2 separate regions of the Homo sapiens genome follow, and region 2 is linked to region 1. The links are contacts of gene promoters, found by promoter capture Hi-C in blood cells and fetal thymus (Javierre and others, 2016). All regions are on one chromosome and are shown on one strand. Each heading gives the region's core, a stretch centred on a gene start or on the middle of the fragment in contact. The rest is flanking DNA. Distances are from core to core; before and after follow the strand shown.

Region 1 (2,700 bases), core at 48-2,547:
GTCTCAAAAAAAAAGAAAAAAAGAAAAGAAAATCAGGGTCTGGAAAACGTGCTTACTAAGGGACTCGAAATTGGGATGTTACAACAGCAACAAACTTTCTCTACTTCAGCCCCTACAAGTCCCCGTATCTTTTAAGGAATCTCTCTTTCTTCTTTGCCCTTTAAGAGTCAAAGTGGTTAAATAGATTGGATGTTAGGGTATGTGGCACAGGGATAAATCCTAACTTAATTGCTGCTAGATCTTAGCCTAGCATGTGTGAACAGGTCTTAGCAGACTACTTGAAAACTTTAGTGAAAACATTAGTACTGACTCATGATCATGTATCTAATAATTACTCTTCTAATATTAGGTCCAGTAATGTGTAGTTTTGCTAAGAAATCTAAAGTTATAAATAACATGTTGAAATTTTAAAGTGCTTTGGATGTTGAAATCTGCATGTCAATAGCTCACCTTTTCTCAGGGTTTTCGTGCTAGTAGCTTAGTTATTATCCTGATAGGATGTTTGGAAGTTTCTGGGTAAGGAAACAGATCTGTTCTTCTGCTGGGCTAGTCCACCTGTTTCAGGTCCTGAAAAGCTACTGACCTAGTGGACTTCAGACTCCTTGCTTTGTCTTAGCGTTTGAGTTCTTTTAATTCTGGCTGGTAGCTGACCTGTTTGTTAATACATCTGGAATGAAAAGTCTGTTTTTCTAGCCAGGCGCGGTGGCTCACGCCTGTAATCCCAGCGCTTTGGGAGGCCGAGGTGGGCGAATCATGAGGTCAGGAGTTTAAGACCAGCCTGGCCAACATGGTGAAACCCCGTCTCTACTAAAAATACAAAAAATTAGCTGGGCATAGTGGTGAGTGCCTGTAATCCCAGCTACTCGGGAGGCTGAGCAGGAGAATCTCTTAAACCTGGGAGACAGAGGTTGCAGTAAGCCGAGATTGGCGCCACTGCACTCCAGCCTGGTGACAGAGTGAGACTCTGTCTAAAAAAAAAGAAAGAAAATTCTGTTTTTCTGACTGCTAGCTCTGGTTTTATTCTAGCTAACTCCATCTCATTTCTCAGCTCTTTCTGAGAAACTCACTGGCTATATCTCACTCCACTCAACCTTACTGTTTTTCATGTCCCTCCTCTTTTCTCCCATATCACATCCTCTTTTTCCTATCCTTATAAAGGATATGCCATGTCACTCTGGAATAGCTGACTTCCTGTGTATCTTCCCAGCCTGTAAGCTCTTTGAAAGTACATTCCACGCTTTATGTGATTTTTAAAACTCACAAGCCCAGCGTAGCCAATAGTACCATATTGCCTGGTTGTTAGGAAGTTTTCAATGAATGTTGAATTAATGTTGAATACAAGAATCAAACTTTGGGGAGGAAGATTATAACAATGTAAGAGTCTTTAGAAATTCACTACAAAGATCCATTAATTTGACTTCCTAAAGCGGGGTAAATTAACTTTATCTACTGAAATGTAAGTGTCTTTCCAGGCAAGGTGGCTCACGCTTGTAATCCCACCACTTTGGGAAACCAAGGCGGGTGGATCGTGAGTTCAGGAGTTCAAGACCAGCCTGACCAATATGGTGAAATCCCATCTCTACTAAGAATACAAAAAAAATTAGCCAGGCGTGGTGGCACATGCCTGTAGTCCCGGCTACTCGGGAGGCTGAGGCAGGAGAATCACTTGAACCCAGGAGGCAGAGGTTGCAGTGAGCCGAGATCATACCACTGCACTCCAGCCTGGTGACAGAGTGAAACTCTGTCAAAAAAAAAAAAAAAGTTTCTGTGGAATGGACAACATATTTGGGCCTTAATTTAATATCCATAGTTCATCCAATTAACTCCTTCCAAGGGTTCTCTGGCAGTGGTTCTTAACTTAGTCCCTGGGGGTGGGGGATGGGCAGGGACTGCATTTCCTGTCACCAAGTGACCTTAGGGCAACAAAATCTCTAGCGTAGACTGGAAAGTGTGCGACCCATGACTTCTCCAGTAATGAGGGACCCTCTCTCCTCCATCACTGCACAAAGGGACTGCTGCAGAGGTGTAGGTCTAGTTCTGGCTTTTCCGATTTTGTCATGGATTGGGCTCCTCGGGGACACCCAGACACAGAGAGCAGGACTTTTATTGCCACGAGGTAGCCGAACTCTTAACCTTTCTGGTTTATATAACTATTAAAAAATGACATTATTTGTAAGTGTGGACACTGATGGAAAATCGTCGGTTATTAGGCATACAGTAACTGCTGTTGTTCCTGGTCTTGCAGGCCTGGACTGACTACCGCGATGTTACCCTCATCTTTAAGGGCTGTCACACCCTAGCTCAGAGAGAGCAAGGGACAACCTTCAATGCGCTGGGTGTAGTCAGGCTGTAGATCATGTGAAAGCCTGGAGGAGTACAGTCACCAGCTGGTTCACTGTCTTCCTTGCAGCCCACTTAGCAGTAGTTTCGGAACTCGCTGGAGGAGGCTTGCGGGGGTGGGGCTGGAATGCCTCCTGCATTCCTCCTCGCCTCTTCCTCCTGGCTGCATTTGCGGGTGCGGGGGAGGGGCGAGCGCAGGGAGCAGAGCGCAGCGGCTGAGTCCAGCCAGCGCTGGTGGCTCCCAAGGCCCCGAGCACGTGGACACCAACCCTCCTCACATTATCTGGTAGGTTTATCACAAAGTCGGCAAAGGCAGGGCCTCCTTCACAAAGCCTTCTAAAAGACGCCCTGGTTCTCAAA
Region 2 (2,738 bases), core at 158-2,657, 270 kb before region 1:
TAGCTTTAGTAACCATAAAACAAATTATCATTCACAATTTTTTTAACACTCTGGGTAAGGCTTGCATTTGTGGTCATCATTAACAAAGCATAATAAGGATTTTTGAGTCATTAGAAGCCAGGATTCACAGGTAGAGTGGTAGATGTCGCAAAGTCATTAAGAAAATGGTGTTAGGGAACTGCAGAGGCAAGGAGATCTGTGTTGTTTCAAAACAAACAGGTTCCAAAAAGTCATGGTTTTGTAATAACAGTATTGCTACCTTTTTCTCATAACAAAAAATAGGAAATTAGCCAAGAACAATGCATTTAATAATAAAGAATACAAAGAGATGGTACCTGGATACTGTAACAAATCTTCACGTGCACTGATTGGACAATAGACAAAACAGATTGCCTTTCTCTGCCCATCATCCTAAATCTTCAATGATAAATCATCATATCTCACATGTACTGATGAATTTTTAAATATATGTTTTTAATCAAATTGTTTATATAGGCAGGGGCCCTGTTAAAAAAGACAAACAAACAACAACAAAACAACAACAACAACAAAAAACACTTGCCTGAGGCACTGGATACCCAAAGGAAAGTGGCTTTGAATGGCCTTGTTCTAGGAGTTTCTGTCCCTAACAAGAAGGGTTTTGAATACATGGTCTGTTTGCCTAGTAACAGCTAAGGCTGAGTAAGGAATGGAGAAGCCTTGCACTAGCCCTCCCCACACATTTACTTATTTTGGCAATGCAAATTAATAATCAAGGAGGTAAGACAAAGAGATAAATCACTAGAAAATGACGGCACTGAAATGGCAGCCAATACAATTGTGTGAAGACCTCAGCACAAAGATCTGATAGTTTTAACCAATCCAGAGAAAATTTACTTGTCAACAACATTGAGTCTTCCAATCTACTAATATAATCTATTTGTTTATTTCAGTCTTTAATTTGAGTCATATCATGTAGTTTTCAGTATTTAGGTCTTACATACCTTTAAGTAAGTTAAATCCTAAGTAATGTTTGATGCTACTGTAATCAAAATGTTTTTTATTCTTTTTTCAGTTGTTTGTTGCTCATATGTATTTATTGGTTACCCATTGCCACATAACAAATTGCTCCAAACATTAGTGGCTAAAAACAATAATGATTTAGTTACTCATGGTTTCTGTGGATCAGGAATTTAGATAGGGCACAGTGGGGATAATTTGTCTCTACTGTGACTGGGGCCTCAGCTGGAAGACTCAATGACTGAGGGGCTAAAATCTCTGATAGCTTAACTGAGACTGGAACATGCACTTCCAAAACGACTTACTAACATAGCTGACAGGGTGGTGCTGGCAACTGGTTCCTCTTCACTTGGGCCTCTCCTCAGAACTGCTTGAATGTCCTTCATGGCAAGACCCCTGGCTCCAGACGAAGCCATCCAAAAGAACAAGGCAGAAATAGTAATGCCTATTGTGACCTCACCTCAGACGTCACACACGCTCACTTCCACCAGGTTCTATTAATTAGAAGCAAGGTGTTATGACCAGCCCACATTCAAGGAAAGGCGATTAGAATCCACCTTTTAAAGAGAAGGGTGCCAAAGAATTTGTGGAAATTTGAAAACTACCACAATGTATTACGATTTTTTTGTACATTATTATCCTGAGATCTTTCTAATAGCTTTTTTGTAGATTCCTTGGGATTTTCTATATATACAATCATGACATCTCTAAATAAAGACAGTTTGACTTCTTCCATCCCTTGTATGTCTTTGATTGTTTTTTTGTATGATTGTGCTGGAGAAGACCTCCAGAATAATGGAGACCATAAGTGGTGAGCATGCAAATCCTTGCCCAATTCCTGACCTAGGGTGAAAAGTATTGTCTTTCACCATTAAGTATGATGTTAACTGCAGATTTTTTGTAGATGCCCTTTATAATGTTAAGGAAGGTCCCTGCTCTTCCTACTTTCTTTAATATTTTTATCAATAAATGAGTGTTGCATTTTTCTGAATTCTTTCTCAGCAATTGTTGAAAAGATCATATGAATTTTTTCCTTTATTAATATGATAAGTTACATTGATTGATTTTCAGATGTTAAACCACTTGAAATTCCTGGGTTAATCCTCAGTCATGATGTGTTATTCTCTGTATTTATTTTTAGTTCAGTTTACTAACGTGTTAATGATTTTTTTCATTTACATTCATGAGACATATTTGTTTGTAGTCTGCTTTTCTTATGATGGTTTTTGTTTTAGGATAAGCTTATCCTCATATCCTAAATGTGGAATTATTTCTTTCTCCTAAGTGTTTTAAGAGCATGTATATGATTAGTGTTATTTTATTCTATTTATTTATTTATTTATTTATTTTTAAAGACAGGGTCTCACTCTGTCCCCCAGGCTGGAGTACAGTGGTGTGAACATAGCTCACTGCAGCCTCAAACACCTAGGCTCAAGTGATCCTCCTGCCTTGGTTTCCCAAAATGCTGAGATTACAGGTGTGAGCCACTGTGCCCAGCCCATTTTCTTCTTTAAGTGTTTAATAGAATTCACGCGTGAAGCTAGATATGAAGGTTTTTATTTGTTGAAAAGTTATTAATTGTAAATTTAATTTCTTTCACTGCTACAGAACTATTTCAGTTTTCTAACTCTTCTTGAGTTAGTTTTAAAAATGTATCTTTCAAGGAATTTATCCCTTCTTTCTAAGTTATTGTTTTTATTGATATGAAGCTATTTATAATGTTTTTCTTAACCTCTTAA

Evidence for each region. The method cuts DNA at HindIII sites, captures the fragments that hold promoters and counts their contacts. A CHiCAGO score of 5 or more calls a contact.
Region 2: the fragment with the promoter of PLBD1-AS2 here is called in contact with a fragment that was not itself captured in region 1 in 1 of 17 cell types (neutrophils); the score reaches 6.5 in neutrophils.

What each region holds. Positions count from the first base shown.
Region 1 is chr12:14,260,545-14,263,244 of GRCh38, reverse strand. No RefSeq gene overlaps it. Among named protein-coding and RNA genes, the nearest start is that of ATF7IP, 100 kb to the left of the region's middle. The HindIII fragment of the contact is 4,043 bases long and covers 1-2,700 here.
Region 2 is chr12:14,528,808-14,531,545 of GRCh38, reverse strand. PLBD1-AS2 (PLBD1 antisense RNA 2) reads right to left here and starts at 1,407. Exons shown (of 5, transcript NR_187784.1): 1 at 1,305-1,407; 2 at 336-504. The region is part of intron 6 of PLBD1 (phospholipase B domain containing 1); the gene reads left to right. The HindIII fragment of the contact is 11,029 bases long and covers 1-2,242 here.